Regions from separate parts of the Homo sapiens genome. Here regions 2, 3, 4, 5, 6 and 7 are each linked to region 1. Evidence: promoter capture Hi-C in 16 types of primary human blood cells and fetal thymus (Javierre and others, 2016). All regions are on one chromosome and are shown on one strand. The core of a region is centred on a gene start or on the middle of the fragment in contact, and the rest is flanking DNA. Distances in the headings are between cores, read along the strand shown. Region 1 holds the start of ZNF324 (zinc finger protein 324). Region 2 holds the start of AURKC (aurora kinase C). Region 3 holds the start of ZNF304 (zinc finger protein 304). Region 4 holds the start of ZNF548 (zinc finger protein 548). Region 5 holds the start of ZNF17 (zinc finger protein 17). Region 6 holds the start of ZNF749 (zinc finger protein 749). Region 7 holds the start of VN1R1 (vomeronasal 1 receptor 1).

Region 1 (3,297 bases), core at 295-2,794:
ATGCACCCTTCCTGCTCTTGTAGCAAGAAACTGTGAGTCCCAGCAGGGGCTTCCCAGGCATACCCATCACTGGGACCCTCCCCTGCTGAGCCTGCTTGCCTGACATTTCCAGGCTGCTCATCCAGCCTGAGGGACTGGATGATTCTCACCAGTCGCCACAGGGGAGCAGCCTCAACAACCTGTGAACACAGAGGAACTCAATCCCTTCCTCCTTTCACCCGGTGTCCCCTTTCTTCCCCTCTCTGTTGCCACCCTCCCCTCCTCAGTTAGGTGCTAGGCTCTTCCCAATAGCCCCAGGCATCCCAGCTGGTCTTCTTTACCCTCAAGCCATAACTGCCCACACCTGGCTGAGTCCCTGCCCATTCCTCAGTCCAATTCATAGGCCCTGTCCACAGCCCAGGACGCCAACAACGTCAGGTCCAGTGACATGACCAACCTGGGACATCCCAGACTCTTGATCTTTCCCCTGAAGGAAACCTGCTTTCCTTTCAATTCTCCTTTCTATCTACAGCAGCTCTCTTCTTCCAGGCGCTCAGGCTGAACAACATGGGGTACTTAGTTCTTCAAACAGCCCACACCTGATGCATCCGCAGATCCACCAGAATTCACCTGGTCGCCCACCTCCACTGCTGCCCAGACTGTGGCAGTCGGTTCTTCCCTTCATGCCGACACCCCTGCATGTCTGTTCTCCACGCAACAAACGGTGGAACCGTTTTAAAGTCCTCAGAGGATGTCCTGATTCTGTTCAAAACTTCTATGTCTCCCGACGCCCTCGAGATAAAGCCCACTCCCTCGCCTGATACTGCAGCCGCACACATCCCCTCTACTCCAGCTCCACATCGAGAGAGCTCAGTCCCAGAAGCACCTGGGCTTCGGCTCCCCTCCCAGGTTTTGCACACGCAGGACTCTCCCCTCGGAGCCTCCTTCGGGACCTCAGCCCCCTGGCTGCCCGAACTCGGGAGCTCACCAGTGCCCTGGACGCAGGAGTTTGCACTGACCCCCGCAACCCCCCCAGGGCAGGGAGAGGAAAGACGACTAGGCGAGGTCTAGGAAGCGGCCTCCCTCCGTGAGGGCGCGGTCTGTGTGAGCAGGGACTCCCCTGCTTCCCCGACGCGGGCTTGTCAGCGCCACCGCCGCCAGCGGAACCCGCAGCTGGGAGGGAAGAAAGGCGTGGACCACCCAGCCTTTCCCCGCCAGCAGCGTCCCGGGGCCGCCCCGCGCCTCAGTCTCCCCGGCCATCATGGACGTGGAACGCCCAGCGCGCAGCCTCCTGGGCTGCCGCACGGTGGGAGAGCGCATGGCTCCCGCCGCGGCCCGACAGTCCCCTGGACGCCCACGACGCACTCTGAGAAACAGAGGCTTGGGGGCGCGGCCGGCGGCCGGCGCCCTTGATCACGACGCGTGCGCAGGGCGGGCCCGACGCGGGCCCTCAGCCAGTACCTTCCTCGCCGCCAGCCTCGAGCACCAGGAACCCCCTGGAAACCGGACCCGACCCGCGGTCCCCAGCCCAGACCACCGGTGTGGCCTGACGCGGGCGGCGAAGTGACAGTCCCACCGCCGGAAGTCCAGCCCTTCGGTTCTCATTGGCCCAGTGCGCGCCGCGGACGCTTGCGTACAGCCTTCCGGGTCACGTGGTTCCCGCCTGTTTCCCTGCGTGGAGGCGGGGCCACTACCGGTCTCCTTGGCAACGTCCAAGCCCCTGCCGCGCGGGGCGCTGGGAAATGGAGTCGCGCGGCGGCCTCGGGTTTTCAAGGGCTTGGTGGCGCTGGTGGATTCGCCCGGTGTGTAGTCCTGCCTTCGGCATTCCAGGTGTCCTCCCAAGCAGTCCCGGAGACTAAACCCTGCAGGTGCGAAAGCAGAAACTGCCGAGGTTCCAAGAGGCAACACCAGCAGTGAGCACGGAGGAGAAAATGCACCGGGTAGCGCAGGTGGAGGTGGAGGAGCCGATGCCTGGAGCTCCGGGTTCCCTTCCCAGCTCTGCCTCTCACTGACTGTGCGTCCTGGGCGCGGGTTTGACCTCTCTGTGTCAATGTCCCGTAAAGGTTTAAGGTCCGTTTTCAACCTTTACACCAAGAATTCTCAGCCCGTAAGCCTACATTTGTCTTAAGTATGAGACTGTTCCTCGACACTTGCCCAAAGCATCTGTTTTCCTTGTAATTTGGATGGGCAGAAGTTAATTCCCCAGATTTGCTTGTCCTTAGACCATCTAGATCTTGTCTTGCCCCACACATCACAATATTCATTCTTTTTTCCTTTTTTCTTGGGACTCATTTAAGTTTTTTTTTTTTTTTTTTAACAGGGTCTTTGTTCTGTTGCCCGTGCTGGAGTGCAGTGGCACAATCTCGGCTCACTGCAACCTCTGCCTTCAGGTTCAAGTGATCCCCCCGCCTCAGCCTCCGTAGTAGCTGGGACCACAGGTGTGCGCCACCATGCCTGGCTAATTTTTGTATTTTTTAGTAGAGATGGAGTTTCACCATGTTGGCCAGGCTGGTCTTGAACTCCTGACCTCAGGTGATCCGCCCACCTCGTTCTCCCAAAGTGCTGGGATTACAGGCCAATTTAAGTGTCTTTGACACATAAAAACGAAAGGCAGAGCAGTCTCAATGTAGACTGTCTTGTTTGGCAGATAATAAAAGGTTCTTTGTCTTGTTTTTGGAACCTGTAGACAGTTCTCAGCTGTCCAGTTCCTTAACTCTTTTTGCCTCCCTCCCTCTATACCTACCTCCATCTATAACTATCTCTCTGTCAACTGTCAGCTATAACTGTCCACCTAATTGATTCTACTTGTAAATCCTTGTAGAGCAAGGGAGCTCATCATGTTTGGAATGTTTTAATATAAATTTTGCTACTTTGAAAGAATTTAAGAACATTTCAGGACTGGGCGCAGTGGCTCACACCTGGAATCTGAGCACTTTGGGTGGCCAAGGTGAGCGATCACTGGAGCCTAGGAGTTTGAGACCAGCCTGAGCAACAAAATGTGACCCCATCTTTATAAAAAAATATAAAAATTAGCTGAGCATGGTCTTGCATGCCTGTAATACCAGCTACATGGGAGGCTGAGGTGGGAGGATTGAGTTCAGGAGTTGGAGTGTGCAGTGAGCTATGATGGAGCCCCTGCACTCCAGCCTGGGTAAGAGAGAGACCCTGTCTCAGGAAAAAACAAACAAAAACCCTGAGGGGGAAAAAAAAAACCCCAACACTTAGAAGTATTAAAGTTCAGGGCCGGGCGCGGTGGCTCACGCCTGTAATCCCAGCACTTTGGGAGGCCGAGGCGGGTGGATCATGAGGTCAGGAGAT
Region 2 (3,297 bases), core at 425-2,924, 1.2 Mb after region 1:
CAGACCCGCACCTCACCGTGGCTGTGCGCTGTTCATCTAATTTCTCGCTTTTCTGCAGCTCCTTGTAGAGCTCACCCCTTGGAGCATATTCCAGAATCAGGTACACCCGGCGTGCATCATGGAAATAGTTATACAGGCGCAGGATATTGGGGTGTCTGAAGGATTAATGTTGGAAGAGTCAGATTTCTCCCTGAGGCCTATCATATGATGCCACCGTCACTGCCTGGTCACACAAGTGGCAAATTATGCTGGGACCAGAATAACAACAGCCCTATCTGGGAGCAAGTGAGGGGAGAACGGAGAACAGGAACCAGGATTCGAGTGTCTGACCCAGGGTAGGAGGTAGTGTAAATGGAATGAACTGCAGAGAAGTCTTCAAGGTACAAGTGCAGGGTTTACTTGGGGTTAGTATTTGGGGAAAATGCTGGGCTCAGACGTCAAAGATGAAAGAGGAAGCAGAGACTGTCCTTACTGTAGATGAGCCTGGATCTCAATTTCCCGGCGCAGCTGGTGCTCCAGTCCTTCCTTCTCTATCTGCGACTTGAAGAGAACCTTCAGGGCCACAATGAAATGGCTTTCCTTGAGCCGAGCCAGGTACACATTCCCAAATTTCCCCTTGCCCAGGGGACGCCCGATTTCAAAGTCATCGACTGTGAGGCGCCGCCTGACAGGAGAGGAAGAAAAAAGCCTCAGCTTGGGAGGTAGGGTAGGCGGAGGGAAAGTCAGGGATGCCAATGCTCCCCTTCCTCTTTCATTGTATCCTTCCTCTGCCGCTTTCCCTTCTCACACAGACCCAGCCCTATCAGTAGTTCTCGTTCCCAGGAGCCAGCACCCCACACACCCAGTCTGTTCTTCATCCCCACGTCCCACCTTCCTTCCTTTTCCAGATACCAATCCCAAGGGACTCACATGGCTGGGCTGCTGGGCTGCTGGGCTGTTTGGTTTGCTGTAGCCACTGAAAGAGAGGAGGAGGAGGGAGATAGGAAGGGAGAGGGGAGGGAAGGAGAAGGGGAGAGAAAGAGAGGAGAGGAGAACAGTAGAGAAGGGAATAGGGAGCGAGAGGTGAGGGGAAGAAGGGGAGGAGAGAAAGAGAGGGAAGGGGAAGGCAGGGAGAGGGGGAGGGAGAGGTAAGGGGAAGAAGAAAGAGTAAGGTAAGGTAGGGAGGGGAGGAGGAGGTGAAGAAGAGGCAGAGAGAAAGGAAGGGGAGGAGAGAGTAGGGGAGGGAGAGGTGAAAGAAAGAATTGGAGGGAAGGGAGGGAGTGGGGAGAAAAGAAGAGCGTTGGGGAGGAGGAGAGGGAGGGGAGATGTCAACACATGTGTCTTCTGTGCACCCGACCCCTGGCCCAGTCCCCAGCCTTCCCTGCGTCCTTTCTCTGGCGCTGGCTCTCACACTCTTCGCCTGCAGGTTGAGCTTTGCCCAGCTGCACCACAGCTCTGGGGGAGCTCATGGGGAGAAGAGGTGAGGGCGCGGACGCCTTCCTGAACCCTCTGGATGGCTGTTCCCGTTCACAGGGTCCTGAAAGGGGTGGGGGGTCACTTTCTGGCCGGGGCGCTTCCAATCCTGCTCGTCCTGCAGCCTCACTGATGTCTCACTGCTACACAGGCTTCGGGATCCGCGGCGTCGTGAGCAGCCGTGGCTGCGCGGCCTTCTTTTATACCCGGCACCAACCGCTCAGAGAGGTACTTCCTGGCTGGCTCCTATTGGCTGAAATTCCTGACGCCATCGGAAGTGCGCCCAATAGAAAGGACAGAAACGGGAGCCTCAGTCCAGGGTTCCCGGGTTGGGGCGGAACTGGAGTGCTGCGGTCCGGGCTGGGCACTGAAAGCGAGGGCCAGGGGTGAGGCCCGAGAAGGAAGGAGACAGAGGGTGCGGAGAGGTGGTGATGGCCGTTGTGGGAATGAACAACGCATACACCCACGGGGTGTGCATGCGTCAACTAGGAGAGAGCCGCGATGCACGTGGGAATGAACAGACGCCCACTCCTGACGTGCTGGAGCCTCGTGCAGCCCGTGACCCTAAACCACTTCGCGCCTTGTGCAGCCGGCGACCCCAAAACCACCTTGCTTCAAGGTCACGTCCGATTCAGGCCACTCTCCAGGGTCACCGCGATGGGGCTCCCTGAAGCCTGCGGCTGTGCCTGCTCACAGCCAGGACGCCACCAGTCCAGCTCACTTACCCCTCTCCTCCCACTCGCCAAATATTTGTTGGACCCTGTAATCAGTTTGTGGATTTGGCCTCAGATCGTAAAATCAGCCCCCACGTATTTGTTTAGCAAACACATAAGTTTCAAAAACATTAAAAATTGAATTCTTTTAGACAGGGAACATATCTTGCAGAAATATAATTGAAGGCCTGGCGTGATGGCTCATGCCTGTAATCCCAGCACTTTGGGAGGCCGAGGCGGGCGGATCACCTGAGGTAGGCAGTTCGAGACCAGCCTGGCCAACAGGGCGAAACCCCGTTTCTACTACAAAAATTAGCCGGGTGTGGTGGCGCATGCCTGTAATCCCACCTACTCAAAAGGCTGAGGCAAGAGAATCGCTTGAACCCTGGAGGCGGAGGTTGCAGTGAGCCAAGATCATGCCACTGCACTCCAGCCTGGGCGACAGAAGGAGAACGAGACTCTGTCTCAAAAAAAACAAAAACAAAAACAAAAAAACCCAAAAACAAAAAAGCTCGTCTCAAAATATTTGGGGAGACCTATTTGAGTAATAAAACTCTGGTCTCTCATTTAGCTCGATTGATGTGAATTAAACCCTTTATTGCAATTATCCTGTCTTGATAAGTCGACTCTATCTGGGGAGCAGGGAAAATAATGAACCCATTAGGTGGTTACAATAGGTGGATCAGGGTAATGGCGCTTAGCTCAGGCCAACCATTCCTTTCTCAGAGGCTTTCCCAAACCTGTCTGTTTGTTTGTTTATTGAGACGGAGTCTTGCTCTGTCACCCAGGCTGGAGTGCAGTGGCTCGAACTCAGCTCATGCAACCTCCGCCTCCTAGGTTCAAACATTTCTCCTGCCTCAGCCTCCTGAGTAGCTGGGATTACAGGCACCTGCCACCATGCCCGGCTAATTTTTGTATTTTTAGTAGAGACAGGGTTTCACCATGTTGGCCAGGCTGGTCTCGAACTCCTGACCTCAGGTGATCCACTCGCCTCGGCTTCCCAAAATACTGGGATCACAGGTGTGAGCCACTGCGCCCAGCTCCAAACTGTCAATTTAAAACAGCCCCCACTACAACGTCATCCTGTTCTGTTTTTCCTTAGGTCACTCATAACCATGTGAAAGTGCTGTTT
Region 3 (3,297 bases), core at 433-2,932, 1.1 Mb after region 1:
TAAACATGACCAAAGCCTAACTCCTGATATAACCACTAAAAATCATACCTGCTGCCAACTTCTCTATCTCAGTTGATGGCATTTTCATAATTTTACCAGCTACAGCAAAAACAAACCAACCTTAGGGTCATCCACGACTCTCCTCTCTTTCACCTTTCGCATCAAAAAATCCAATCACCCTACTTTAAAAAACAGAAAATTTACCAACTTCTCTCACCTCCACAGCCACACCTCTAGACCAGACACCATCAACACTACTGCAGTAGCTGCTCCCTCATGCTCACAGTCTGTTCTCAACCTGAAAGCCAGAGAGAGCATGTTAAAATCTGAGTCAGATCATCTCCCTCCTCTGCTCCAAATCTCCCACGACTTTTACCACACTCAAGACACCTCGGCCAGCCATTCCTGCCTAACTCCTTCCTCTGATACCTGTTTCCAACAAAGGTAATTAAGACCTGAGATTCCCTGAGCGCTCCAAACTCAATCCTACAAGCATTTGAGCGTACCTGTTCCTAGGTCTGATATACTTTTGCAGTACTCATCCCATTGGTCGCCAGGTGGGGACTTCTCCACATAACTCCATACAACTCATGGCCTGGATTCAGGACACTAAACTAGAAATGACCTCCATTCACTGCCCCCTGTCTCAAGTGAAGACAGTCATGTGAAGAATCCCAGGATATCATCACTATGTCTCATCAGAGAATCTGGTCAGCCTTCCTTATAAAATACATACAAAACCCAAAACCCATACATTCTCTAACCTCTGCTGCCACCACTCTGGCCCAGACCATCAACGCTCACCTGGACTATTTCAGTAGACTTCATCTTGATCTCCCCGTCTACCCTATAATCCCTAGTCTACCCACTCTGCAGCCAGAGGGAGCCTTTTAAGAACTGCGTCAGAGGACCTCCCTTCTCTGTACCAAACCTTGCATGACTCCCAGCACCCTCAGAAGAGAGGACCAGCTCCTCGGGCGGCCATTCCAGGCCTACCTCTGACCCCCTAGTCCCTGTTCTCACCAGGCACAGAGAGTTCCCGGAACTCCCCAAACTCATTCTCCTCTCCATGCATGCATTTGTACGAACTGCCCCTGCGCCTTCGAGTCCGTTCCACACCTTATGCCACTGATGAGGGGAGCGGAACCCCTCCACATAATGCGACGGAGTGAGCACCCTGAAGTGCGCGATGAGAGCGAACATCCCAGGACACACCAACCAGGCCGGGGTGCGCTTGAGGGATGCCCCCACTCACCTGAACCCGGTCCATCAGCACCGCCGCTGCCATGAGAAGCGGATGAACAGTCTGTGCCCTGTGGGCTCAGCCGAAACCCCACGCCTCCACCGCGCTGGACGCCCTCGGGCTGAGTGTAGCACTCCAAGTCTCAATCTACCCGGTGTAAAAACGCTCACAAGACTAAGGCGGCTGCTTCTGGGGGAGACAAGGACAAGAGGACGTGTGTGGAGGCCTCGGTAAGAGCCCAGCCCCGGCAGACACCTCCGCGAGAGGCCGCCCGTCCCACGACAGGGGTCATGGATTGTAACAAAAGCGCGAAGGAAGGTCCTGCAGTCTTCACTGTCTTTCTTTGCTAGGTTCCACGAGAGCCGCGTAGAAAGCCGACCCGATCTCTAGAACTCAGCCTTCACAACCAGAATGCACGGACCGGGCATAGGAAAAATACGTCACGACGGCGACGCCAGAAGTCTCGCCCCTGCAGCCCAGAGCAGCAGGAAACGCCCAGTTTCTGGGCTGTCATTGGCTGCACGCCGGCTAACAATGAGCTGGGCACAGATTTCTGGGTAACGTAGTTTGTACCCTGCATCCAACCAGGCAACGAGCGCCTTTCGGGTTCTCCCGGATGTCTGCCAAGAGGCGTCGTGCAGGGAGGGGGAGAAAAGACTGGGAAAACGATATCTCGGAGGCCACAGCTGCTTTTAAAGGGTATGCACCCTGATTTCCATGGCCACCTGGGACAATGCCACGCCACTGAAGTCGCCAGCAAGGGACCCATTCTTCAATCCTGCTTCTGAGGCCCTGGGAAACCTGCTTCACCTCTCTCAGATTTGGGGATTGAAACGTATTAATAAATTGAACGTTGTCTGTATTTCGTTTGTGGGCCTTTTTGTAAAACATTGAATGTCCTTCTAATTTTTCTAACATATAAAGAAAAGAGATGTAATTAGCTACCTTTCTGCTGGCTGTACAGGAAGCATGGTGCCCGTATCTGCTTCTGGTGAGGCCACAGGGAACTTTTATTCATGGCGAAAAGTGAAGGAGGAACTTACATGTAACATGACGAAAACATGAGCCTCTTCTAATTCATTGCTTCCCAATTTGATATGTAGTTTTACAGCATCAGCTTCACTATGAACTTAAAAAACCTGTGAATTCTTGGACCCAACCTATACCTTCTGATAAACTCTGGGGATGGGACCCTAGCTGAAGTTCAAGAACTGGAGGTCTTTTAAAGTCATTAGCCAAAAACAAAACAAAACAAAAACAAACAAAAAAAAATCAGTAAGATGAAAAACACTACAACCAACCTCATTAGGAATATGGGAAGTGAGGTAAAAAGTACTTAACACCAGGCCTGGCACATCGTGCTAAATACATACAAGCTGTTATCAGTCTTCCTCAACACAAGGTTCTCACATACACTGCTTTAGGAAGATAAATCAAAGATCCACCTTTTCAGGATCAGTGTGATTTTGAAAAAAAAAGAAAAAAGTACAATTATTCCCTCACTCATCAAATAGCATCATAGATAATAGTTATAATTTTTTTTTGAGACAGAGTTTCACTCTTGTTGCCCAGGCTTAAGTGCAATGGCACGATCTCAGCTCACTGCAACCTCTCCCTCCCAGGTTCAAGCGATTCTCCTGCCTCGGCCTCCCGAGTAGCTGGGATTACAAGCATCCGCCACCATGCCCGGCTAATTTTGTATTTTTAGTAGAGATGGGGTTTCTCCGTGTTGGTCAGGCTGGTCTCGAACTCCTGACCTCAGGTGATCCAACTGCCTCAGTCTTCCAAAGTGCTGGGATTACAGGTGGGAGCCCCTAATGGTTATAATTTTTGCACAAAAGCACACCAATATATCAATAGACTCATTTAATTGAAAAAAATCACATGCAAGAGGGTTTCATAAACTACAGGTAGGTCTATCGTCCAGAAGACACATTCTTATAGGCTGTATGATTCAAAACACAGAACTATCAAGACTAATTGCTCTTCATAATTTTTAACTCCACTGTCCACTTAAGAGTCACTGTAGTTAAAATTTTATAACCTGGTTTATT
Region 4 (3,297 bases), core at 578-3,077, 1.1 Mb after region 1:
ACAGTATCTCCTTACACCAGTCAGAATGGCTATCATTTAAATGTCAAAAAACAACTGATGTTGCCCAGGATATGGAGAAGAGAAAAAGGTTACACACTGTTGGTGAGAATGTAAATAAGTACAACCTCAATGGAAAACAGTATGAAGATTTTTCAAATAACTGAAAATAGAACTGCCATTAAATCCACCAATTCCACTACTGGGCATCTACCCAAAGGAAAATAAATCATTACATTAAAAAAAACATGTATTTTTATCACAGCACTATTCACAATAGCAAAGATAGGGAATTAACCAATTATCCATCAATGTATGACTGGGTAAAGAAAATGTGGCATATATATACACAAGGTAATACCACTAGGCCACAAAAAAAAAAAAAAGCATGAAACTATGTCTTTTACAGCAATGTGGATGGAACTGGAGGCCATTATTAAATGAAACAACTCAGAAACAGAAAGTCAAATACCAAATGTTCTCACTTACAAGTGGAAGCTGAATAATGTGTACACATGGACAAAGAGTGTGGAATGACAAACATTGGAGACTCCAAACAGGTAGAAGGATGAGACGAAGATGAGTGATGAAAAATTACTTAATGGATACAATGTACATTATTCAGGCGATGGATACATTAAAAGCCCAGACTTGACCACTATGCAAATATATCCATATAACAAAACTGCACTTGACTCCTTAAATTTATGCAAACAAACAAACAAAAAAAACCCGAGACCGACCTACTCAATCTGATCCTCAGACCATTCTCTGGCCCAGTCCAAGCCCTCCATCCGTCTGGTATCGCCAACCCAATCCCCTTCCTCAGACTCCACACCTTTATGTCCACCTGTCTGTGTGACATATCCATCTTGAGACATTTGAGAATCACCATGTCCAAAATCCAACCTGTGATCTTCTCCCGGAAATCTGCTCTTTATGCTGACTTCCCCAACTCCATTCTTCCAAACGTTCAAACAGAAAACAAAAAACAAAACAAACACTTGAAACGGTTCTTCACTGCCTTTGTTCAGACATAACTGAAGCACCAGGAAAACCTACGGGCCCTATCTTTCAGGCCTATGAAGAATCTCATCACATCTCCCTCTACTGTCACTGGTCCAGCCCCAACCATAATTCTCCTGGGTCTACTGCAGTGGCCTCAGGGCCTTTTCGCGTCTCCCTGTGTCCATTCCTAACCTGGTTTTCCTAACTTGAAACTTCGAACTCTGGACCTGCCCCCTCCAACTGTCCCTCCCTTGACAACCTTCCATGGTTACTGGCTGCTCAGGTTGCCATTCCAAGCGAGAATTCACAAAACCCTCTCTTTCCCGCAGAAACAACACACACCCCTGACGCCCCAACACAGCCCACTCGGCAGCGCCTCCATGCTCTGAACCTGAGGTCCCTAACGGGAGCTCTGAGGCTGCATCAAATCGGCTGATACGGGGACCCCACACAGGAACGCCCCTCTCTTCGGGACAAGGGGCCTGACCTGCAGGGCCCCTTCAGGGGGCTTCAGCACTGGGAGGACCGGTCGGGCGGGGGAGCCTGGGACGGGACACCCACCTCAGTCAGGTTCATCAGCAAGGCCTCCGCCAGCCCAGCCAGGGAAGAGCGGGGCGGGAGCGACAAAGGCAAGACAAGGACGCCACTGTCCCCAGCGCTTGTCAGTTGACTCACTCCCGCCTCTCCGTGGTGGGAACCGAGCCGCTTCTCGCGCTTTTCCGTTCCGTCACTTCGGTGACGTCAGACAGAGCCATAGGCCGAAGTTGGTGAAACACCACACAGAACCAAAACGACCACCACCAGGAGGACGGCGGAAGTCCCGCCCTCCGACGGTGCGCACGCACGCAAACGTCCCCTTCTAAGCCTTTATTGGGTAAGTCGTGCCGCCGAGAGCTGCAGTGTCTTCTGGGTTATGAAGTTTCGACACCGCTTCCGGACTTGTCTTAGAGCGTTGATCAGTCCTTATATGGCAGATAAAGGCCCAGTGGCACTGTCAGGGGAGCTGGGAAACGGAGTCCCCGACTCCAAAGACAGGAGGGGGCTTGGCTTGCTCTTAAAGGCAACATACGGTATTTTTTTGGATTGTAGTATAGGATATTTACAGAAATGTTAGCAACTTATTACTTAAGACTCTATTAAGCACAGCTAATTCCCAATAACTACAGGTCCAAAGAGACACCCCATACCATAAAGGCAGTCTGCCTCTACTCATGCCTGCCAGCCATATTATTGCTTTTCAAATACACATACAGTTACGCTTTGGCGTCTGTTTAGTAAGCTTCAATATGTTTGGTCCAGAAGAAGAAAGAAAGACTACGCAGTTAGGGCTATGGACTGGAATTTGTAGGAAGGATGACAGGAGACGCTGAAGTAGGTTGAAAGGGTGAAGCTATGCCTCTGGATCAAAGAGAATACATCTTACCTGACTGTAGAGTCAGCGATTGTGTTCCTACGAAGGGTGCAACGCTTTTATTCTAATAATACTTACTACTTCATATCTGAGATATTTTCCATTTATTTTAAGAATCACAATCCTATCTGAAAATGAGAGTGACGACCAAAATGAGTGATTGAGGCATAAGTCACAAATCATGGAGGATTACTGGACCAGCCTAAGGGCACATCCAGAAAAATGTAAGTCACAGAAGCATCTGTGGCTGGTTTTTCCAAAGAGGTTCTTAGGAGGTTTAGTATTTATTATACATTTTCCTTAAAAAGGAAGAGGGGTTGGCAGTGAGACAAATGATTACAGACATGTGAAACTTTAGTTAGTGCCCAGTAAATCTACATTTTACATAAGATAGAGTAAACACGTGAGGGGAAAAGGGAATAAAGAAGATGTCTCAGAGAAGGATGAAGGAATGAATAATCTCATCTTCTCTCTGTTCTGTACCTTGGAAGATAAGCTAGTAGTCTTCTGAAAAGGTTGATTTCTATTTAGCCCTTAGGGAAGAAAACCTAATGATTGTAGTGTGGTAGGGGATATAATGAGGTGTGTCTGATTTCCCGTTCCTCTATAGTGGTGAATTCAGCTTCCAAAGTTATTCTAGGGTTCTCATGGTCAAGAGGGCATCCATTCAGTCAGTTAGGGGGTGCTTAGAATTTTATTTTTATTTCTCAAGAGCAGCTGATACATGCCATTTCTGGACAACATTGTCTACCGTTTTCATAGTTGAAGCATATGCACATCTTATCCTCAAAAAAGGTGTGGAATTCCATGATGTTATCTTCTTCCTCAGAAGTGATTTAAAATTTCACCTGTGTTTACAACTGTATTTGCACAGGGAGTCG
Region 5 (3,297 bases), core at 361-2,860, 1.1 Mb after region 1:
GTGGTTAAATAAATGTTTTATACATTCGGCCGGGCGCGGTGGCTCATGCCTGTAATCCCAGCACTTTGGGAGGCTGAGGCGTGCAGATCATGAGGTCAGGAGATAGAGACCATACTAGCTAACACGGTGAAACCCCGTCTCTACTAAAAATGCAAAAAATTAGCCTGGCGTGGTGGCGGGCACTTGTAGTCCCAGCTACTCGGGAGGCTGAGGCAGGAGAATTGCTTGAACTCGGGAGGCGGAGCTTGCAGTGAGCCGAGATCGCGCCACTGCACTCCAACCTGGGCGATGGAGCGAGACTCTGTCTCAAAAAAAAAAAAAATGTTTTACACATTCATAAATAAATAAGTTGCAGGGAGGGGATAAGCAAGCAGGTCAGTTACTGGTCCCATCAGCAACCAGGCCTGCCTGCTACAAATTCAGTTGCTGGAAGCTTGCTGGAGGCCCTTGACTAGATGTGAGAAAGCCCTACCCCCGTCTGGACCCAATGTCCCCACTAGTCTGGATGACCTTCCTATTGTTCCACAGAGTGGGCCTGGGGGGCTGCTGGGTCTGCAGGTGCAGAAATCTAAACCACCTCACACCTCAGTCTCCAGCCTAGGCCAGTTCCTTAACCCATTCAGAACTCCGTTTTTGCAGATATGAGCCAGAATCCCTCCTATGACAGGTCTGCGCCTTTCTAAAGGTAGCGTCAGGCTTATGGACCCACCCATGATCTGCCCTCCAAAACTCAGCCCTCCAAAATGCAACTCATAATCCTCTCTGAAACCTGCTCCCTAAGCTGACTTCTCCAACTCCATTCTTTCAGATTTTCAGGCCAAAACAAAATCCATGGAATAGACCCTTCACTACCCTCACTGCTACATTTGATGCAGCAGGAAATCCTGTCGACTCTATCTCTGAGATCCATCCAGAATCTCATCACACTTCCCCTCTACTGCAACCCCTCTGGCCCATCCCTACCATAACTCAAGGGGTCTCCTCAGCGGTCCCCTTGTCCTGGTTTAACATCCTGTTTTTCCCAACTTTAAACGTCTACCTCTGGGCATAACCCTTCCTGCACAGCCTTCTACGGCTTTCAGCAGCTCCGCTGCCCTCCCAGGCGAGACTCCGCCTCACCCTCAGCTCCGTGGAGACAAAGACGCTCGGGCTCCCCAGTGCCGCCCGCTCTGCAGCACCTCTAAGCCTCGCACGTGCAGGTCCCTGACAGGAGCTCCCCCGCCTCACAGCACCGCGGACACCGGTACCCCACACAAGAACGCTCCTCTCTTTGGGACACAGGGGCCTGACCTGCAGGGCCCCTCCTCGGGGCTTCGGCACTCGGAGGAGGGATCGGGCGGGGCGCCCTGGGACGCGGCACCCACCTCAGTCAGGTTCATCGGCGCAGCCTCCGCCAGCACAGCCAGGGAAGAGCGGGGCGGGAGCGGCAGTGACCTGGACGCTGACAGAGGCACCAACGCCTGCAACCGATTCAACCGAGCCTCACTCTAGCCTCTGTACAACGGGGAAACCTTTTCTCGCGTTTTTCCGCTTTTTCACCTCAGTCTCGACTCAGCCTGAAGGTGAACAGATCCCAACGCAGCCATATTGACAACCCCAGGAGGCGTTGCAGGAAGTCCCGCCCACACGCATTGCGAACCCCCGTAGACGCCGCTCTGCTAGGCCTTCATTGGCTACACTCGCTGCTTGTGTCCGCCGCTGTGTCTTTTGGGTAATGTAGTTCCCAGGCCACTGCCTGCCCCGCTTCTGAACTTAAGTTAACTCGCGTTCAGGATGAAAGCCAGGAGGATCCTCCTGAGGCTTTGAGAAATGCAGTTGCGGGGCTCCAAGGACGTGGAGGGGCTTCATTGGCTTTTAAACGGCAAGCATCCAGATTTTCCCGGAAGGCAGTCTAGAACAAGTCAGAGAAATGTTTCAGAGACCTGTCCTTTCAGATTCTGTAAAGCACAGCAAGTTCCCAAAAGACGAACATCCGAAGGAACATGGCCAACCATAAAGAACTGGTCTTCCACGCATAGCGGTCAGCTCTTTTGTGCTTGCCAAATACACACAGAACGAAGCTCTGGAGACTGTTTTATGATCTTCAATGTGCTCTGCTGGGCACATTGAAAAGACCCAGACATGGCATGATGGGGAGTTTGAGGAGTAATATCTTTCCTTTCTGAATAATCAGTTATTGTCTTTCAGCCTACCCAGCAACACTTTATTCACATGATACTTATTACTTTATATCTGAGATATTTTCCACTTATTTTAAGAGACTGAAACCTAACTGAAAAGGAAAAGCGACTTATCTACCATTATCTGCCAGAATAGTGTGGCCTTCCACCAGTCAAAGCCCTTGTGCAAAGAAAGCATCTTACTCCTGAGATAAAGGTTTGGGAATGCATGATCTCATCTCATTAGTGGAAAGTGATTTATCATTTCGCCTGAAATTGTATCAACAGTGTCTGCACAGGGAGTTGAAATTGTCTCTGAATAACTCTTGTGAAATGGCTATTACTGAAACTATTAATGACGATTATGTAGATATCCAAAGAAAGTGGCAAAAATAGTTATAGAGAAACATATTTGTGATAGGAGGAAAAAAGCTAAGGTTGTCCTGGAACCTTGGACACACTCAAGTTTGGTGTCCAAAATCTGATTCTTTTTCAAACTTGAAAACATTGTGCATTAACAGCTTGAAGGGAGAGGTAAAGACTATATATTAAAAGAGTTACCAGAAAAGTAAAGCTGAATAGGGAAACTGTGCTGTCGTATTTATTACTCTAACATATTTGATGAACACTCATTCGATGCCAGGTACAATACTAAGTGCATGGGACACATTAGGAGTAGGGTTGCTAGCTGTCTGTGGTCCTCTAAGACACGTAAGACGTATTTAATGAATTAGTCCTCAGTCCTGTATTGACCTTGTCAGGTCACTTTAAATGTCCTGTATTCCGCTTTTTACAATAAATTACAAAACCTCAGAAGTTAGAGCTATTTTTCTACCACTATAATTGTAAATTAAATCACTTAGCAGCTATGTTAGCTGAAAATCATACCCCCACAAATAAAGATATGGACATAGTCTTGTGATCTCTCCTGCAGAATTGGTGAGGGAAAAATAAAATGGAGCACTGAGATATTCAGTAAAGGAGAAGACTGTTTTTTGGCCAAAGTCTTGAAATTTGGTTTATCAAATTACAAAAAGAAGGAAGGAAGGAGAGAGAAAGAAGGAAACGAAAGGAAAAGAAAAAACCACCCAACTGAAGGTCTGGAAGAGTTAAAGCTGTTCAGTAGTGCCAGCTACAT
Region 6 (3,297 bases), core at 497-2,996, 1.0 Mb after region 1:
TAAAAACTTATCTTATTTTAACATAAGTTATTGGTAAACAACTCAGAAACTGCTTCTTTTTTCCTTAAAAAAAAAGCAAACACTTGTCACTGTGGTAATTGAAGTGTATATTCAGGACAACTTGAATCTATGGTCCCAGATGGCTATCATCAACATGTGAACTTGAATAAACTCTCTTTAAACTAGATTCTGACTTGCTTGGTTATTTAAGATTGATATAGTTCCTTACTGTTTAAGTCAATTACCTGTTTTTACATCCCTAAGTTAATGAGTTGTAGGATGGGGCTGAGCAGTCAATCAGTTACTGGTCCGTTCAGCAAACAGGTCAGCCTGCCATATAATGCAGTAAAGGGAGCTTGCTGGAGGCCCTTAACTGTGGTGGAGGATGTGAGAAAGCCCTGCCCAGTTTTGGACCCAGTTGCTGCATGGCCTTATCTTGTTCCCTAAAGAGTGGCCCTCAGGGCCAGCTGAGTTAGAAGGGTGGAGTGACTACAATTATCTCATGCCTCAGTCTCTGTATTCCAGGGCAACTCCTTATCCATCCAGGCCTCTTTTTCAACAGAAACAGACCAGACTCTTAGCCCATATCTGCTCCCTTCTGCAGGGAGTATCAGAGATGCCCTCCCTACCATGGTCTTTCCTCCAAATCTGAGCCCTCCCCTACCTCAGCCCATATGAAAAAACGATGTAGGATTCTTCCTTCTCAATCTGATCCACAGGCCAACTTCTCAAGTGCACAACTTCTAACTCATTTAAAGCTCCAGGCCAGCTACCTTCCCTCACCTTTGGAAATTACGTCCACCTACCCATGTGATGTCGCCCAAAATCCAACCCAGGATCTTCTGTCTGAAACCCGCTCCTTAAGCTGATATCTCTAATTCCATTCTTTCAGATTTTTCAGGCCAAAACAAAACCTATGGAAGACACCATTCACTACCGACTTTCCCTCACAGCTATGTTTGATGCAGCAGGAAATCCTGTTGACCCTATCTCTGAGATCCATCCAGAGTCTCATCACATCTCCCCTCTACTGCAACCCCTCTGGCCCAGCCCTACCATAACTCAAGGGGTCTCCTCAGCGGTCCCCCTGCCCCCGTTCAACATCCTGTTTTCCCCAACTTTAAACTTCTAACTCTGGGCGTGACCCTCCCATTCGTCCTCCCTGCACAGCCCTCTATGGCTCTCTGCGGCTCCACTGCCCTTCCAGGGGAGACTCCGCCTCAACCTCTGCTCCTTGGAGACAAAGACGCTCGGGCTCCCCAGTGCCGCCCGTTCTGCAGTGCCTCCAAGCCCCAGAGACGTGTCGGTCTCCGACGGGAGCTCCCCCGCCTCATCGCACCGCAGTCCCAGTCCCGGGCACCCCACACAAGAACGCCCCTCTCTTAGAGACACAAGGGCCTAACCTGCAGGGCGGCTCCTTGGGACTTCAGCACTGGGAGGAGGGGTTGGGCGGGGCGGCCTGGGACGCTGCACGCACCTCGGTCAGGTTCATCGGCGCGGCCTCCTCCAGTCCACCCAGGGAAGAGCGGGGCGGGAACGGCGGTCACCTGGACGCTGACGGAGGCAGGGGCGCCTGCAGCCGACTCAGCCGATCCGCACTCTAGCCTCTGTGTAGAAGGAACACCGCTTCTCGCGTTTTTCCGCTCTTTCACCTCAGTCCCGACCCAGAGCTCTGGGACCCTCTAAATCAGTGAACAGATCCCTAGGTAGCCATGCTAACGCAACCATGAGGGCGCCGCCAGAAGTCCCGCCCACACAATTGAGACCTCATTAGTCGTCTCTCTGCTAGACCAATGGCTACACTCGCTGCCCTGCCCCCGCAGTGTCTTCTGGGTAATGTAGTTCTCACGTTGCTGCCTGTGTCGCCCGCAGTGTCTTCTGGGTAATGTAGTTCCCACGCTGCTGCCTGCCTCGCCTCACAATGCTGGGCGCGCGGACCTTACGGAAAAAAGCTGGAGGCTCCTGGAGGAGCGTTAAGAAATGCAGTTCCGGGGCTCTTAAGGACGTGGAGGGGCTTTGCTGACTCCTAAACTGCAAGTAACCAGATTTTCCCGGAGAGCAGTCTAGGACAAGTCTGAGAAATATTTCAGAGACCTGTCGTTTCAGATTCTCTGAAGCACAGCAAGTCCCGAAAGGAAGAACATCAGAAGCGACATGGCTGACCATAATGAACTGGTCCTCCATTCATAGCGGTCAGCTCTTTTGTGCTTGTCAAGTACACACATACTGAGGCTCTGGAGACTTTTTTTTGATCGTTAGTGTGCTTCTGTTGGGACAAGAAAGAAAAGACCCACACAGGATGTGATGGAGAGTTGAAGGAGGAATATCTTTCTGTCGACGAAAAGGGTGGAACTTTGTGAAATAGTTGAAGAGATTTATTCTGAGACAAATATGAGTGACTAATGGCCCATGACACGGCTCCAAGATATCCTAAGAACATATGCCCAGGGTGGCCCATCTACAGCTTGGTTTTAACAATTTAGGAAGACGTAAGACATCAATCAATACATGTAAAATGTACATTGGATTCCTCTGGAAAGGCGCAACTGGAAGGGAGGGGCGGGGCTTCCAGGTCAGGTGGGTTCAAAGATTTTCCGATTGGCAATTGGTTGAAAGAGTTTGTATCTAAAGACCTGGAATCAGTAGAAATGGTTGTCTGGGTTAAGGGGTTGTGGGCCGGGCGTGGTATCTCACGCCTGTAATCCCAGCACTTTGGGAGGCCGAGGTGGGCGGATCACCTGAGGTTGGGAGTTCGAGACCAGCCTGACCAACATGTAGAAACCCCATCTCTACTAAAAATACAAAATTAGACGGGCATGGTGGCACATGCCTGTAATGCCAGCTACTCGGGAGGCTGAGGCAGGAGAATCGCTTGAACCCGGGAGGCGGAGGTTACGGTGAGCCGAGATCTCGCCATTGTACTCCAGCCCGTGCAACAAGAGCGAAACTCCGTCTCAAAAACAAAAAAAGACAAGGGGTTGTGAAGACCAAGGTTATATCATGCAGATGAAGCCTCCAGGTAGTCTTATAAGGCCTTATGATAAGGCCTCAGCTCCTGAGCTAAAGCTATCTTCCCACCTCAGCCTCTAGAGCAGCTGGGACTGTAGGTACAGGACACCGTCCCTGGCTTTATTCAGCTTTTTACAATGCACTACAAAAAGTCGGCATTTAGAGCTATTTTTCTCTCACTGCAATTGAGTAGCAGTGAGAGAAAAATTGAGTAGCAATAGTATTGCCATCAGGTGGTGGCAATACTACCTGAAAACCATGCCCCCAACAAATGAAGATTTGGATAAT
Region 7 (3,297 bases), core at 370-2,869, 1.0 Mb after region 1:
AAGCTTTCAAAATAGTCATAGTAAAAATGGTACTTTATAAGGAGAAGCTGAAAAAATAGGAAACCAAATGCATATTGGAAATAAATTATACAACTAGGACAATGGAGCAAAATAAGAGATTAAAGCAAAGAATCAGGAACTATCTTGAAAATAAATGATGAGTTCATATAAATAGGAAAAACATTTGTCAACAAGTGGTTTGTGGGAATCTAAAAGGTTTTCATACCTCAGAGCCTGAGTTTTTTTTTTTTTTTTTTGAGACCGAGTTTCACTCTTGTTGCTCAGGCTGGAGTGCAATGGCATGATCTCGGCTCACTGCAACCTCCGCCTCTGGGGTTCAAACGATTCTCCTGCCTCAGCCTCCCGAGTAGCTGGGATTACAGGCATGCGCCACCACCTCTGACTAATTTTTGTATTTTTAGTAGAGACGGGGTTTCTCCCTGTTGGTCAGGCTGGTCTCGAACTCCCGACCTCAGCTGATCCACCAGCCTCGGCCTCCCAAACTGCTGGGATTACAGGCGTGAGCCACCTCTCGCCTGAGAATCTTGATACTGCTGTGTTATTGATTGCTCCACCCCTAAAGAGATGTAGTTATTCATGGGAGAAAATACCTCATAATTTTCCCTGATGATAGCAATTCCATAGAGACACCAAAAGAATCTAAATTATGGCCGGGCGAGGTGGCTCATCCCTGTAATCCCAGCACTTTGGGAGGCCGAGGCGGGCGGATCACGAGGTCAGGAGATCGAGACCATCCTGGCTAACACGGTGCAACCCCGTCTCTACTAAACACACACACACACACACACACACACACACACACACTAGCCGGGCGTGGTGGTGGGCGCCTGTAGTCCCAGCTACTCAGGAGGCTGAGGCAGGAGAATGGCGTGAACCCAGGAGGCTTCAGCCTCCCGAGTAGCTGGGACTACAGGCACGCACCACAACACCCAGCTAATTTTTGTATTTTTAGTAGAGACGGGGTTTCACCATGTTGGCCAGGATGGTCTCCATCTCCTGACCTTGTAATCCACCCGCCTCAGCCTCCCAAAGTGCTGAGATTACAAGCGTGAGCCACCGTGCCTGGCCGCAGTTACTATTTCTTTTGTGATTGATATATATGAATATTGTGCAATGAAATTCCCTCCCAATTGAATTATCTTTCCCTAAAAATAAACCCAAGCTTTCTGGAACATATTGAATTTCCTATTTAACAAGTTTTAAGGATATCTTAGGTGTTTCTGGGATTAGTATTTATTTTCAGGATCTTTTGCATTTACTTGTGAGAAATGGCATTGAGATAAAAATGTGTGGGCTCAAGGTGGTCATGGTTATTTCTACGGAGTCAATTCACAATCTCTAGACCTGTCCGGTGGAAAATAACAGAAATATATGTGCTTAAAATAAAATATACCATGATGCAATGTTGATTGTTCCAAAAATTATAGTTTTTAAAAATTCTTCAAGTTAGCATTTGTACTGTGCTGAAGGCCTTGTTACCAATTGTATTGTAGCGTTTTTTTAATTTCTTTTTTTTTTTTTTTTGAGACAGAGTCTCGCTCTGTCGCCCAGGCTGGAGGGCAATGGTTTGATTTCAGCTCACTGCAACCTCTGCCTCCCAGGTTCAAGCGATTCTCCTGCCTCAGCCTCCCGAGTAGCTGGGACTAGCACGCGCCGCCATGCCCGGCTAATTTTTGTATTATTAGTATTTTGTATTATTAGTAGAGACAGGGTTTCACCATGTTGGCCAGGATGGTCTCCATCTTGGCCTCCCGAAGTGCTGGAATTACAGGTGTGAGCCACTGCACCCGGCCTAAAATTTGTTTCAATGCATCAATAACAATGGTGTTTACTAAAATATTAGTGTGGAAAAGGTTTTATGGTGTATTATTTTTGCTTTTCATATCTCCAGGCTACTTAATTGAAGGTTTTATTGAAATAAGTGTAGACTCACAAGCAGTCATAAGAAATAATACAGAAAAAGCCCTGTCCATATTACCCAGGGTTCCGTCATGATTACATTTTGCAAACTATAGTATAATATCACTCTAATGATATTGACTCTTCTGTGTTCTGTTTTTATATATTTCCCTAGTTTTGCTTGTATTTACTTGTTGCATGTGTGTAAGCCCTGAGTTTTATAGGTTTGATTTGTGGATCTGTTGTGCGGTTGAGCCCTCATTCATTCACCTGCTTCTCTGCAGTTGGACACACAAGCAATTGCCTTTGCACGAACAGGGACAATCTTAATTTCTGTTTAAGATGAGAAAATATGGTTGGAGACACATTAAAACTTCTGTCTCCACTGATGACAAGATACTTCTTTCTGCTTTTTTATTCTACTGATTCTTCAGACCTCAATGAAAATCAACATCCCCTAGATTTTGATGAAATGGCTTTTGGAAAAGTAAAATCAGGGATTAGCTTCCTCATTCAGACTGGAGTTGGGATCCTGGGAAATTCCTTTCTCCTTTGTTTTTATAACTTAATTTTGTTCACTGGACACAAGCTGAGACCCACGGACTTGATTCTCAGCCAACTGGCCTTGGCTAACTCCATGGTCCTTTTCTTTAAAGGGATACCTCAGACAATGGCAGCTTTTGGATTGAAATATTTGCTGAATGACACTGGATGTAAGTTTGTCTTTTATTATCACAGGGTGGGCACAAGAGTTTCCCTCAGCACCATCTGCCTTCTCAATGGATTCCAAGCCATTAAGCTCAACCCCAGTATATGCAGGTGGATGGAGATCAAGATTAGATCCCCAAGGTTTATTGACTTCTGTTGTCTCCTCTGCTGGGCCCCCCATGTCTTGATGAATGCATCTGTTCTTCTATTAGTGAATGGCCCACTGAATAGCAAAAACAGTAGTGCAAAAAACAATTATGGATACTGTTCTTACAAAGCATCAAAGAGATTTAGCTCATTACATGCAGTCTTATATTTTTCCCCTGATTTTATGAGTTTGGGCTTCATGGTCTGGGCCAGTGGCTCCATGGTCTTCTTCCTCTACAGACACAAGCAGCAAGTCCAACACAATCACAGCAACAGACTCTCCTGCAGACCTTCCCAGGAAGCCAGAGCCACACACACCATCATGGTCCTGGTGAGCTCCTTTTTTGTTTTCTATTCAGTCCATAGTTTTCTGACAATTTGGACAACTGTAGTTGCAAACCCAGGCCAGTGGATAGTGACCAACTCTGTGTTGGTCGCCTCATGTTTCCCAGCACGCAGCCCTTTTGTCCTCATCATGAGTGATACTCATATCTCTCAGTTCTGTTTTGCCTGCAGGACAAG

What was found. Contacts are between HindIII fragments. The CHiCAGO score rates a contact against its expected background, and 5 or more counts as called.
Region 2: the fragment with the promoter of AURKC here is called in contact with the fragment with the promoter of ZNF324 in region 1 in 4 of 17 cell types (neutrophils, naive CD8 T cells, non-activated CD4 T cells and 1 more); the score reaches 16.6 in neutrophils.
Region 3: a contact is called between the fragment with the promoter of ZNF304 here and the fragment with the promoter of ZNF324 in region 1, in 1 of 17 cell types (naive CD8 T cells). The highest score is 5.3, in naive CD8 T cells.
Region 4: the fragment with the promoter of ZNF548 here is called in contact with the fragment with the promoter of ZNF324 in region 1 in 9 of 17 cell types (non-activated CD4 T cells, total B cells, monocytes and 6 more); the score reaches 12.5 in non-activated CD4 T cells.
Region 5: the fragment with the promoter of ZNF17 here is called in contact with the fragment with the promoter of ZNF324 in region 1 in 4 of 17 cell types (fetal thymus, non-activated CD4 T cells, neutrophils and 1 more); the score reaches 9.4 in fetal thymus.
Region 6: a contact is called between the fragment with the promoter of ZNF749 here and the fragment with the promoter of ZNF324 in region 1, in 10 of 17 cell types (neutrophils, activated CD4 T cells, naive CD8 T cells and 7 more). The highest score is 12.9, in neutrophils.
Region 7: the fragment with the promoter of VN1R1 here is called in contact with the fragment with the promoter of ZNF324 in region 1 in 12 of 17 cell types (total CD4 T cells, fetal thymus, naive CD8 T cells and 9 more); the score reaches 16.4 in total CD4 T cells.

What each region holds. Positions count from the first base shown.
Region 1 is chr19:58,465,327-58,468,623 of GRCh38, reverse strand. It overlaps ZNF324 (zinc finger protein 324), which reads right to left and starts at 1,544. Exons shown (of 4, transcript NM_014347.3): 1 at 1,441-1,544. RefSeq lists enhancers at 44-163, 582-1,196, 1,197-1,813 and silencers at 1,295-1,424, 1,505-1,554. The HindIII fragment of the contact is 6,014 bases long and covers 1-3,297 here.
Region 2 is chr19:57,229,400-57,232,696 of GRCh38, reverse strand. It overlaps AURKC (aurora kinase C), which reads right to left and starts at 1,674. Exons shown (of 7, transcript NM_001015878.2): 1 at 1,391-1,674; 2 at 910-955; 3 at 473-664; 4 at 17-155. The coding sequence starts at 1,448. The HindIII fragment of the contact is 17,293 bases long and covers 1-3,297 here.
Region 3 is chr19:57,349,656-57,352,952 of GRCh38, reverse strand. ZNF304 (zinc finger protein 304) reads right to left here and starts at 1,682. Exons shown (of 3, transcript NM_020657.4): 1 at 1,256-1,682. The coding sequence starts at 1,288. RefSeq lists enhancers at 1,380-1,449, 788-1,646, 1,600-1,689, 1,647-2,506. The HindIII fragment of the contact is 5,195 bases long and covers 1-3,297 here.
Region 4 is chr19:57,388,384-57,391,680 of GRCh38, reverse strand. It overlaps ZNF548 (zinc finger protein 548), which reads right to left and starts at 1,827. Exons shown (of 4, transcript NM_001172773.2): 1 at 1,567-1,827. The coding sequence starts at 1,581. RefSeq lists enhancers at 1,570-2,049, 2,190-2,269. The HindIII fragment of the contact is 17,908 bases long and covers 1-2,286 here.
Region 5 is chr19:57,409,474-57,412,770 of GRCh38, reverse strand. It overlaps ZNF17 (zinc finger protein 17), which reads right to left and starts at 1,610. Exons shown (of 4, transcript NM_001330617.2): 1 at 1,365-1,610. RefSeq lists a silencer at 911-1,113 and enhancers at 1,357-1,416, 1,497-1,606. The HindIII fragment of the contact is 5,033 bases long and covers 436-3,297 here.
Region 6 is chr19:57,433,774-57,437,070 of GRCh38, reverse strand. ZNF749 (zinc finger protein 749) reads right to left here and starts at 1,746. Exons shown (of 3, transcript NM_001023561.4): 1 at 1,478-1,746. The coding sequence starts at 1,492. RefSeq lists enhancers at 1,182-1,231, 1,862-2,161. The HindIII fragment of the contact is 4,352 bases long and covers 1-3,297 here.
Region 7 is chr19:57,455,462-57,458,758 of GRCh38, reverse strand. It overlaps VN1R1 (vomeronasal 1 receptor 1), which reads left to right and starts at 1,619. Exons shown (of 1, transcript NM_020633.4): 1 at 1,619-3,297. The coding sequence starts at 2,273. The HindIII fragment of the contact is 5,648 bases long and covers 1,186-3,297 here.